2 separate regions of the Homo sapiens genome follow, and region 1 is linked to region 2. The links are contacts of gene promoters, found by promoter capture Hi-C in human tissues and cell types (Jung and others, 2019). All regions are on one chromosome and are shown on one strand. Each heading gives the region's core, a stretch centred on a gene start or on the middle of the fragment in contact. The rest is flanking DNA. Distances are from core to core; before and after follow the strand shown. Region 1 overlaps SMOC2 (SPARC related modular calcium binding 2). Region 2 holds the start of SMOC2 (SPARC related modular calcium binding 2).

Region 1 (6,116 bases), core at 3,563-6,062, 80 kb after region 2:
GATCTGAGACTTTTAGGGCTGTCTTTCTTTTCAACAAAATCTCTGGCATTCCATAGAAAAGCCAAAAAAAAAAAAAAGCCAAATGCCAGGAGAACTTGGAACTATTTTGAGATTTCTGGAAACAGATATTGGACAAAAGCAGCTTCCTTGGAGATCTGAGGACCAAGAGCTTCTGAACGGGCGAGTCTCAGTGAAGGGAACATGGTGACAAAGGCTCTAACTTCACCTGTCGCTCTGTGCATCCATCTCCGAGGCTGCACAATGACCTCAACAGCCCTCAGCAAAGCGGCTGGGACTCAGCCAGCATCTGGCACACATGAGGCCCACGGTGCAGGAAGTCCACAGGTATCACAATCAGATTCGAATCTCCACAAGATGAACGCACATGCTGTTATTATTAAGATTATTAGGCGGGCAGATCATGAGGTCAGGAGACCAGCCTGGCCAGCATAGTGAAACCTCGTCTCTACTAAAAATACAACAACAAAAAAATAGCCGGTAGTAGTGTCAGGTGCCTGTAATTCCAGCTACTCAGGAGGCTGAGGCAGGGGAATCCCTTGAACCCGGGAGGTGGAGGTTGCAGTGAGCCCAGATCGTGCCATTGCATTCCAGCCTGGCGACAACACTGAAACTCCGTCTGAAGAAAAAAGGTTACTGCCACGATGAGGTTTAGAGACTGTTCTTTCCGTTGGTGAACCCCTGGAGTGATACACGCAGAAGTTTACTCCCATGGCCAAGTGATGGTTGTAACAGGAATCTAACTGTTGGTTTTGGGGCCGCTCATCCAAGTTCGCTGTGCCGTGACAAGGCGTTTCGTGTCAGCGCTTCCCTGGAAAAGCTCCTTTCTTCAAGGTTGCCCCAGACAGTCAGCTGTGAGGCCTCGCTCTGAGGCCTGTCTGCGGCTGTCTCTCTGGCATTCTCTGTAGCTTCTGCAGAGCTGGGGTGGGGTGGGGACCACTCTGCCCCTGTGGCCAGCGGCGCCGTGGCCTGGCTGTGAGGCCCAGCAGGGGTTTGGGGTGGCACCTTCCCAGGCCTTCTCAAGCCGCCTCACGCCTGCTCCTGATGCTTCCAGAGAGGAACAGCGGGCAGCAGTGTCTCCGGGAGGAAAGCCAGGCGGCTTCACGTCTGATGTGGGTCGAGGTGCAGCTCCTTCCACTTCCCAGCGTGGACCTGAGGGGCTGCCCTGCCGGGGGAGCAGCTTTGCCATCCTTTGAATCAGCAGCGACAGCTCTCGGGCTCTGAGGCCAGGCGCTGCCTAAGAAGCCGGAGCCACGGGTGTCTCACACTCCAGAGGAACCAGGCCTCCCCGTGGGGCTCCGTCCACGCGCTCTGCTCCTTCTGTTGCAGTTTTCCTGAGAGCACGGCAATGGCCCCTGCGGCTCGCAGCTTCTTCTCAGCACCTGTAGGGAGGAGGACCCCGCCTTTTCCTCAGCTGGGGCTGGGCAGACTCTGACGGGTGAGGCGCTGGCAGCACGTGGGAACCCCCTGTGGGGGTGAAATGCAGGGGCCTGGGCGGTGGAGGGGCCTGGGCGGTGGAGGGCGGGCTCTGCAGGTGTCCCGATGCCCAGCCCAGCTCCAGACTCTCAGGGCTACAAGCTGAGGGCGCCGGAGCGCGAGCCTGGGCCGGGGGGCTCTGTCCTCGCGTCTCTAGAACGAGGAGCCGGTTCAGAGAAACCCAAAGAATTCTTTCTCTCTGGAGGTTTTCCCATCGCATGAGTGTTTCCGTCGAGCTCGTCCTCGTACTCAGCGGCCTAGAAACAGGCCAGAGAGCTCCACACCTGCCCGTTCCTCGGAATTCCACAGCCTCGCCTTGGAGGAAGCGGGAGTCGCGACGTCCCCATGAGGCTCCTTCACCCCCGCACAAGCGCCCGGGGCCGGAGTGTCGCCTGGCTCCTATCGGGCAGCATCGACCTGTTCATTTTCCTCAGAGAACGGGCATTTCCATGAAGGAAATCTGTGCGGGGGTGTGAGTGTGAATGTGTGAATGTGTGAGAGGGCGTTTCTGTTGCATGTGTGTATGCCTGAGGTGTGTGTGCGTGAGTGCGAATGTGTGTTCATGTGCATTGTGTGCATGTGTGATTGTGTATGCTTGTGTGTGAATGTGTGCATGAGTGTGCATGTGTGACTGTGAATGTGTGAATGTGTGTATTCATGTGCCTGTGAGTGTACATATGTGAGTGTGCATGTGTGAATGTGTGTAAATGTGCATGTGTGGATGTGTGAGAGCGTGTGTATGCTTGTGTGAGTGCATGTATGTGACAATGCATGTATGTGTGTGAATGTGTGTTCATGTGTGTGCATGTATGACTGAGTGCATGTGTGAGTGTATGCTTGTGTGGGTGTGTATGTATGGAGAGTGTGCTTGTGTGTGAATGTGTATGAGCGTGCATGTGTGAGTGTTATGCTTATGTGAGTGTGCATGTGTGTGAATGTGCATGTGTGTGTGTTCATGTGCGTGTGTGCATGTGTGAAAGCATGTATGTGCTTGTGTGTGAATGCATGTTTATGTGAGTGCATGAGTGTGCATGCGTGTGTGTGCCTCCTTGTGTATGAATGTATTCATGTGTCTGAGCATGCGTGTGTGTGCGTGCATGTGTGAGTGAGCATGAGTGTGCGTGCATATGCTTGCATGTGTGTTAGTGTGTATCCGTGCACGCGTGTGTATGCATGCGTGTGTATGCGTGCATGTGTGAGTATGCGTGCATGCGAACATGTGTGTGTATGTGTGCATGTGTGAGCATGCATATGTGTGTGAGTGTATGTATGCGTGCATGTGTGAACATGCGTGTGTGAACGCGTGTGTATGCATGCATGTGTATGTGTGCATGTGTGAGCATGCGTGTGTGTATGCGTGCATGTGTGAGTATGCGTGCATGTGTATGTGTGTGTATGCATGCGTGTGTGAGAGAGTGTGTATACGTGCATGTTTGTGTGTTCATGTGCGTGCGTGCATGTGTGAGTGAGCATTAGTGTCCGTGATTCTTTCTGTGCCCTGGGCTCCTGGGCCAGGTGCTTATCCCTGGCTCCACCCTTTCCAGGTTGGATTTTCTTCTTCCAGCAGACACAGTTATCAGAAGCAACTTCAATCGGATTTGTGCTTGTGTCTTGCAGAAACTCTACCCAGAGTATGTTTACCTTAACTCGCTTATGGTATTTTAACACGTCTGATGTTTGGGAGCGCCCTTCCTCACAGGCTGGGGTAGACATAACAGGAGATTCAGGGCCTTCGGTCTCGTGTGCAGCCGTGATCAGAAACACAGCCGGACGTTCCTAGAACATCGCACATCCAAAGGGCCTTTCCTTGTTTGCTTTAGTGGCACCACCAAACCCAAGGCACCGGCTCATCAGCAGAGCAGGGGCCTCTCCGCACAGCCTAGGGAGCTTCTGCCCTCTGGAAGGTTCTAGTCAGCCTTCCTGCAAAGGATTTAGTGACCATTTACACAATCATCCATTTCGATCTGTTGCAAATCACTGATATTTTCATAGAGATGGGCATGATCTGTGGTTTCTTGTATAAATATTATAAAGGCTGTCTGAATACTGTAATATAGTCTTGCAATGGTTTGCAGTTTCTCTTAACTTTCTCTTTACAATTTGGCAATCTCAGTTACATATTTAGAGATTTCCTATTATAATTTTGTTTCTGCCTTTATGCATTTAAAAAGAGAATACTTACGTAAAACGAAAATGTCGTTCCTGTCTCCCTTAGCTCTGAAATGGTGTCGTTCTGGTCATGGTTGAGGGAAGGTTGGACGGATGCGCTAGTCTGCTGCTGTGGGGATGCATCATGCTGCTTTTGCTGGCCAAGGGCTGCAGACCACTGGGGTTGGGGGCGCTTATCACAGCACTTTCATCTATATTAGGATATTAGGATGGAAAAGAATACTTCAGTTCTGCTGGAGAGTGTTGCAGCATGGCATTCTTAGTTTTTCTGACTCTGGCCTTCAAAATTACGGGTGGGTAAAATACTACAACTTTTAAAACACAGTGTCTGCCTTCATTTGATGCCAAAATCAATAAAAGCCATGCCACTCTGAGGGCTATCATTGCCGTGGCCACTACAAAGACACCATATGTGTCCTCTGCCTGGCTGCCATTTGCTCGTTCAGCCCGTGGCATTCCCACACCAGCCCCGTCCCGGCCAGCCCTGCACTGGCTCATGGGGAGATGGCAGTGCAAGCTGAGCCTGAACTTGAAGAGTTTACATGGCCGTGGCCATAATCATAGCCATTCAGTGACCTCGCGAGATCCAGAGTCAGAGCATCTGTTGACCAGAAACATATCCAGCTAGCTGCTCCTTCCATATCGATAAATGAGACACCACAGTCATTACCTGTGTCCCAAAGTTCTCTGCCTATTGCAGTAGGAAGCTGAGTGGCATCAAAGTCTTGAGACACCATCTCTGGTGTAAACCAAAGCATCTTGGAAGACCAACAGGAAGAGTTACTTTGATTCACTTTTGCCTAGCTTAGTGTGTTTATGTTATTCGATTCTGTTACAGACAGGAGTCCCTGAGAGAGGAACTCTCTGGGCTTAGGACTACCAAATTCATCATCACCTGTGAAGATCACTGTTTCTTGGCCCTGTTTTGAAAAGTTTTCTCAAAGATCCCTTTTAACTGTTCCTTTTAATTGTTGCTCTCCAGATCTCTGTAAAATGTTCAGCAAAGCAATCTCTGCTGATTCTTGCCTAATCCTGTTTTGAGAGATTCTAGCAAAGTAGGGAATTATTTGCTTTCCGTTTAAAAGAAAACACTCATCATAAGTAACCATTATAAAACACTGTTTTCATTTCTACTTTGTAGTGAGCATCACATTTTAATGGTTTCCATGACATATCTTTTTTTTTCTTTTGAGACAGAGCCTTGCTCTGTCACCCAGGCTGGAGTATGGTGGCACGATCTCGGCTCACTGCAACCTCCACCTCCCAGGTTCATGTGATTCTCCTGCCTCAGCCTCCTGAGTAGCTGGGATTACAGGTGCCCACCACCAAACCTGGCTAATTTTTGTATTTTTAGTAGAGGTGGAGTTTCACCATGTTGGCCAGGCTGGTCTTGAACTCCTGACCTCAGGTGATGCACCCGCCTTGGCCTCCCAAAGTGCTGGGATTACAGGCGTGAGCCACTGTGCCAGGTCTCCATGACATATCTTGATATGTAAACAAGCTTGTAATCTGATTGGAGCCTATTTTGTTTTGTAACTGAGAGAGATGAAATATCATCCAACAGGTAGAAATAAATTGCTTGCACAATTAACTATCATTAACCAAAAATTCATCAAAATATTTCTGTTAGGGCTAGGCGTGGGGGCTCATGCCTGTAATCCCAGCATTCTGGGAGGCGGGAGGATTGCTTGACACCAGGAGTTCAAAACAAGCCTGGGCAACAAATCAATACCCCATCTCTACGAAAATTAAAAAATTTGCCAGTCGTGGTGCCTGTCTTCCCAGCTACTGGGCAGGCTGAGGTGAGAGGATTCCTTGAGCTCAGGAGGTTGAAGCTGCAGTGAGCCGTGATGGCACCACTGCCCTCCAGCCTTGCCGACAGAGACCCTGTCTCTAAAGCAAAACAAAACCTGTTGTTAGTGATGCCTTGCTAAGCAATGATGAGTTCTTTCTTTATAAAGTCCCGGCTCTGCAGGTAAGAGCAAACATTTTCTAAAAATAGATGACAAAATTCACATAAGAAAGTTTTTATTTGGTCTAGTAAAAAGTGACTAAATTCTTCAATTAGAAGGAGATTAACACTTTTATTTAAAGTGTTAATATTATAATTTCCAGCTAAGATGTTTTTCTCTGAGGTAGACATTGATTATAGTAATATAATACTATGAGCCAAAGTACTATGAAACCATTTCATCCCAGTCAGATGGTTACAACAGTGTAACAAAGACAAAATAAATTCTGGGTGGATAAACACTTGTGTCTGTTGGCTGGACATACAACGGTTTAGCACTGTGGCAGACAGCAGGCACTCCCTCCGTAAGTTACATGCAGGACTGCCATGTGAACCATCATTTCTACTCCATCATTTCTACTTTTTACCCAAAAGACTTGAAAACAGGCGTTCAAACAAAAATTTACATCTGCATGTCTATAACAGCATTATTTACAATAGC
Region 2 (6,573 bases), core at 1,267-3,766:
GGAAAGTTAGTTTAGAAATGTGAAAACAGCTGGAGTCTTTGGTAATTAGTTTCTCTTGCTGTTCTTTATTGTAACTTTCATCAGTGACAGGCATTTAAATTCTGAATGCATAAGCCACATTTTAGAATGGGCCCTGCATCACTTTTTAATTAAAAAAAAAAACAAAAAAACCTACATTTCCAAGAGAGGGGAACTTCTTCCTGCATCCTAGAGGAACTCTCTGGAAAGTATAGAGCTGATCACTTCCTGTCTTAACTTTGAACTGAGTGAATTACTTTTCTATCCTTTCTAACATGACAGCTCTCTGGCATTCCTGCCAGTAATAACTTTCTTGGAGACTTACAAATAAAAGACAGACATAACTCTTTCCCAGTGTTTTAAATAAATGTATTGTTTTTCTCCATAAAAATGGAACCTGATTATCTCTCCAAACTCCATTTCTAGAATTTTGAGAAACTAAAATTTGGCATTCAGGACACATGAGCTCCTCCAGATTTGAAAGGGGTTTCAAAGGCTCCAAACCTGCCTCATCTGTCAGAGTTTTGGACAAATGCATTTCATTTATCTTCCTAGAGTTCCCAGAGGATTCTGGAGTTGCTACATGAAAGACGTGTTGGGATTCTTGAATACAAGGCACGGAGGGCCAAGGATTTTCTTCTGTTCTCCATATTGCCAGAGGAAGTGACATGGATTTGCCAGTATTGCAGGTTTTAACATCTGCATTCTGTTTATGATTTTGTTGCTTAGGAGATCTGGCTAAGACATTTGGCCCCTTTGACTTTTGTTCCTCATCTGTAGAATGGGAATAATTAAGTCTGCTTCTTGTCTGCCATTCTTGCAGCGGACGATGGTGGATAAATGAACATGCTTTCAAACTTTTGAGTTCTGACGAGCAGTACTCTCAACAAAGTGGAAAGTGAAAAACAGGTTCTTTAGTAGCAAATACTTCTTAAAGGAAGTATGTCAGCTTCGAGTGTAAATTTTATTCTTTGGATAATCTTAGAATTAGTGGTATGTAGTGTTTATTTTCTTTTTACTTTAATTTTCACTGCAGTTCCCTAACAGTGATTCCTATTTACTTAATCATTTGCAGCTGCTCTGCTCACCTGTTTTTCTGGACCCAGGAGCAGTCCCTCAAGAGTTTTATTATAATTTCCTTCTAAGTCCTTAAACCAGGAGGAATGTGTTTAAGTGCTTAATAGATTCCCTGGGCTTTGGAATTTTAAGGAGAATTCTGAGAGTAGCCCTCCTTCAGGAAAAGGTGCATTTCTTTCCCGTCTTTCCGTGGCCCGACGGACATCACTTTCCTGATAAAATTGTGTGGGAAAGGTTGCAATAGCATTGCCTTTGCCTCAGCAGCCAGTCCCAGAACTTGCTGATACAGCCCCCTCCCCCAAAGTTCATAGCCAAAGCAGTGGGCTAGACATCGGATGAAACCTCAGATTTGGATTTTCTGTGTTTTGTGCTTTTCCCAATGCCCCTGACAAGTCAATTGATTCATTGTTCTTGAACAAATCTTCACTCTTCTGGCTTTCTGTGTGAGACAGAATTAGGGCTTTTTCCTGTAAAGTTATAAGCCAAGGCTAAACTATGTCAGCAATGTTGTCTGCAGTGGATATTATCCAGAGTCTGGGTGTGCAAAAATTTCCTGGTTTCCAACGTAGTCTTCGTGGGTGAGTTTACAACCTCCACAAGCCCTGTGCTCCCCGCACAAACACCTGAAATGCTTTGACAGAGCTGTTTAAAAACAGCCACATGTGTCTGTGAATGATGCCCAACCACATGCTCCCCCGACTTGAGAGGATCAAGGCTACAGCCCAGGTCAGACCCCGGATCTTTAGGACCTAAATTCCCCCATCCCTGCAGTGGATAACCCCGTGTAAAGATGCCAAAGGCGGGCTGCCCCCGGCGCAGCCTTTCCTGGACATGTGTTCCCAGCTGCCTTTGCTGGAGCGCCGCTGATCCTTCAGCACCTCTGAGAGGCAATGTTCTGGGCTGGACCAGGGGGCCTTAGAGGGCAGAGGTCAAGGAGAACCCCGGAGTCTGGGGACCGGCCAAGGCTTGGCGTTAACCTTTGTGGATGAAAAGTCCCGCTGGGCTGATCCTGCGCGGACCGGGCCTGGACCCTGGGGCGTGAGGAGGGCGCGGTGCGTCCCGTGGTTGTGCTTGGAAGCCCCCCGAGGGTGCGCGCGCGTGGGTATGAGTGCGTGCGTGTGCCTGGGTGTGCGTGTGTGTAAGTGTGCACGTGTGTGTGTGAGAGTGCGCGCGGGGAAGGAGGCACAGAGACAGCCCGGACAGGCCACTGCGCAGCCCTGGTGGCCCCCGCTCCACCTCTCGCTCCGCAGACCCGCGCCAGGGAGGCCTCTGGGCCGCAGCGGGCACCGGAGCGGAGCGGGCGCGGCAGCGGGCGCTGGGAGGTGGGGCTGGGGGAGGAGAGGGGGAGGGAGAGAGGCGGGCGGGAGGGGAGGATCCGGGAAGCTCCGGGGTATTTGACAGGAGCGAGGGCGGACGCAAAGAACGCGGAGGACCTCTGGGTGCCTGCAGGGGAGCTGCTCCAGCCGGGCCGCCGGGAGCGGTGGGGAGAGCATCGCGGAGCCGCCCCTCCACGCGCCCGCCCAGCCGCGCTCGCCCACTGGGCTCTCCCGGCTGCAGTGCCAGGGCGCAGGACGCGGCCGATCTCCCGCTCCCGCCACCTCCGCCACCATGCTGCTCCCCCAGCTCTGCTGGCTGCCGCTGCTCGCTGGGCTGCTCCCGCCGGTGCCCGCTCAGAAGTTCTCGGCGCTCACGGTAAGCCCGGGCCCGCGGGACCTGGAGCTCAAGTGGTGCCGCCTCTTGCAGCCGGCCGGGTTCGGGTCCCCGCGCCCCGCTCCAGGCCCAGGCGCCTGGGCACGGGGAGCAGGTGGCCCCGGGGGCCGTGGAGCCTTCGCCTGCCGGCGAGGCTGGAGCAGGTAGGACGCAGCGTGCGCGCCTGGGACCCGGCTGGGATGGGCTTCTGGGGACCCTGCCCGCCGGGGTCCTGCTGCGGCTGCGACGGGCTCCTCGGGTTCCACCCGGCTGGGACCCCACCTGCCTCGGGGGCTCTGACCCGGCTGTGAGAGGATCCTGGGGTCCTGCAGACCCCGGACAAGTGGGAGCTGCGGGTGCGCTCGGGTGTCCCGCACTCACTGCTGGGCCTGAGCCTGTGGGGAACCAGGTCTGGGAGCGCCGGCGCCGCCCCGCGGACTGTCCCAAGGCCAAGACAGACCCGCCGGGACTGGGCGCCCACCTCGCCCACGGGGACCCGGCCTGGAGCGTGTTCTCCCGACCGCTTTGGGCTCGTGCGCCGCGCGGATCCCGGGCCTCTCGCCGGCTGAAGGGGCTGCCAGTCGTGGGCCCCACTCGTGGGTCTGACTCTCCCAGAGACCCTCGTAAGTGAGCCGAGGAAGAAGCAGATGAGGTTACAGATGATTCTTCACGGGCCTGAGTGTTATTAGAGAAGCGCTTTCTTCCCTTCTCAGGACAGAACTGGAGGCAGGCGGCGGCTCCCCGCTCTGCGGGGCCTCTGGGTTCTTCCTCGTGGCAGGGATGCTGCGCTCCTGAGCGCGAGGGTCACCGCGGTTGACCGCTGTGTGTTTTTCTTTCTGAGCTGTAACTTCTATGCGACAGCCTTGGCCCGGCCAACGCACGCGGTGTCAAACGAGGAGCTATGTAGAGGGGGCTGAGCCAAGCCCCCGCCGGCCAAGCCAACCCGCGGCGGCCGCTGGGCCAAGGCCGGGTGTCTGCAGCCCCCAGCTCCAGCCGTCCTCCTGGGCTTGCAGGGTTTGCAAACCCATCATTAATGCAATCGCCAGAAACGAAAACATTCCACTTAAATGTGTTTTTGAACAAGTGTTTGAGAAAACACGAAGGTAGTGAGAACGCCTCTGGTGGACAGCCGTCTTTTTTAAGTGGCCGGGGACTTGTCCTAAAGGTGTTTATTGTATTGAAAATAAAGATGGTTGAAATAAGCTGTGGTCGGTTCTGCCTTTCAGCAAATTTAAAACAGTCATGTGGGCATCTTTTCTTTTTCTTTTTCTTTTTCTTCGTCTTCTTTCTTTTGCGTTTTAGCAGTGTGAAGGATGGTTTGTGAGTTCATTGCTCATACCTCAAATTCTTCTGCAGCAGCCCGGGGTCCCTGCCTTGTGTCTCACAAATGACTTGTAGATTAGAAACTGCTAACTGGGGCTCCAAGGAGGTTTTCACACACTCAGGCTTTCCCTGAAGATCCTTTATCTCCCCAGAGGGGGCCCTCAGAGGATACTCACTGGAGGCATTCATGTATATGCACATCTGTACATGCATCTAGACATAAATATACTCACGTATACACTCACAAAAAGACCCCCCACATACTCTTAAAGCACACTAGAGGAGACAGAGAAACTAAGGCCAATTCTCCAAAGGAGATCATAGCATTTTCTTCCAGGACTGTAGCAGCAGGTACCTACAGTTGCCACGGATTTTCAGATTTTCTGAAAGCGCAAAAAGTAGAGACTGCCATCTGCCTGCTGCCCTGTGTGTGTGGGGGGTGGGGTTGGGCCTGTTGGTCCCCCCTGGAAGAGCAGAATCAAGGTAGTTAGTAATTAGAACAGTTTAAGACTCGGCAGGTTTTCTTGTCTTCTCTCCCCTGTCTCATCTAACTATTTACTTGAACCCTCTCACCTTTTGCCCCCTTGAGGTTGCCCCAAGGATGTCTTGGGTTGCGGTGAGACCCGCTGCATGTGGGGTCTCTGTGCAGGAGCTGATACCCCACGTGGGCTTTGCCCTGTTGGCTGCATTCCCCAAGAACAGTTTGCCTGAAATTTACATTTGCAAATAAAATCAGTATCCCGAAGAAAAGATTAAAGCCATAACACATTTTGGCACACTTCTTCTCACCCCACCCCCAGTCTAGAAAATCAAGAAGTAGTTGAGTTACAAAGTAACTGAGGCAGGCCTGAAATCTGACTGGTCGCTGGGAGATGTGAGATGTGCAGGATTTTTCAGTGTGCTCATCTCTTTTCAAATTGCCTTCTGGTTTTTGGAAATCTCTTTTGTCTCCGGAGGCCCTCATTCAAAGAAGGGCCTTCTCTCCCTACGATTTGCATCCTACCTACTTTAATAAATCAAGAGGCAGTATCAGTCCATGCAGTGGGTGGGACCCACAGCTTAGGGTCTTGCTGGATGTGTGACTTCAGGCAAGTTACTTAATTTCATAATCTTCAGTCCCCTTATCTGTAAAATGAGAATACATAATCTCTTTCAAGCATGTGGTGAGGATTAAAGGTAGGGCTTTTAATGCGCCTACTATATGTGAGTTCTCCAGCTAACATTGTTTTGATGGTGCCCATGCCGTGGGTCCGTATAAGAGAGTGCTATCAATTGATACCGTAATTATCAATGCATATAGCGTTGTGGCATTAAGGTGTGTGTGGATTCAACTTTGCAGTATTTTCACCTGCCGCAGATTCTCAGAGCACACCACTTGGCTCTGGGTGTATCTGTGGACTTTGTGGGAGTAGCCATGTGGGACTCTATAGACCAAGGAGGAAAGCTTGCCTCTCTGCCTCCTTCTACTCCATTCATTTCTTCTCATCTAGAAGCAGGGAAATATGTCAGCCTCTCTGGGGCTTTCAGTTTGCCATACCTGGCTTCTCAGGACCACGCATTTGTCTTACTCACCTATGGTGAGTGTGCTTTCTTGGTGGGTCCAGCATTGCTGGTGTGCTCACCTCTGCTACTTTATGTTTAAGATTCAGAGAATCCACTTTGTCTGGTAATGATCTCTCTTCTTTCCACCAAAGTCATTCTTTAGAAATGGCACCATGAGGCCCTCTGTGTCTCTCATTGTGACTTTCTGATGGCTTTGCACAACTTCCTGGTTATTGCTCAGACCCTCTCACCTCCAGTCAACAATGGCATTCTTAAGTGTGTCCAATGCGCTCTTAATTTGGATGCAGGTCAATTTCTTCCTTGAAGAAGGAGGTACATTGAATGCCACACCGTGCCCATTTTCCTTTTTATTTCTGTGAATGACTGAGATGAGGGAATGATCTCTAGTATAAATGGTTTTTATTACACATAATTCTGTTTTCAAAGAGCAAACAGGCGTGATCACAATTACTCAACTTTATCATGGTTGTCATTATATGAATTTTGATGGACTGATCCATAAGCCCATACCTAGGTGATTTCTTTAAAGGCAGAGAGAAGAACAATATTGCCTGGGACCCCTTTCCCAGAAGTTTTTGGTTAGAGCCAAAGTATTCATTCCCATGTTGACTAAATCATATTTTGCTCACACTTAGAATGTTGAAGTCACATTACCATCCTTCTCAGACTTCTCTTACTGCCAATACCTAACGCTCCCCTAAGGTCATACGCACGACTTCGTTAAAGGTACCGTTGTCTCCACATTCAAGAGATGAGGAAACTGAAGTTTTGAGAGACTCTGAAGGGCACCTGGTCACTAAGCAGATCCGAATATTTCTCAAGTCATCCTGCCATTATTTTTCTTTCTTCGTGGGAGTTCCCTGCACTGTTTTTTGCACTGTCTTCAGGAACTTTACAATTCCA

Evidence for each region. Contacts are between HindIII fragments. The study calls those that stand out against the background at their distance.
Region 1: a fragment that was not itself captured here is called in contact with the fragment with the promoter of SMOC2 in region 2 in 2 of the 25 tissues and cell types used here (adrenal gland and heart right ventricle).

Annotation. Positions count from the first base shown.
Region 1 is chr6:168,516,314-168,522,429 of GRCh38, forward strand. All of the region lies in intron 2 of SMOC2 (SPARC related modular calcium binding 2), which reads left to right. Among named protein-coding and RNA genes, the nearest start is that of SMOC2, 78 kb to the left of the region's middle. The HindIII fragment of the contact is 5,960 bases long and covers 1,833-6,116 here.
Region 2 is chr6:168,438,668-168,445,240 of GRCh38, forward strand. SMOC2 (SPARC related modular calcium binding 2) reads left to right here and starts at 2,517. Exons shown (of 13, transcript NM_001166412.2): 1 at 2,517-2,787. The coding sequence starts at 2,704. The HindIII fragment of the contact is 15,076 bases long and covers 1-6,573 here.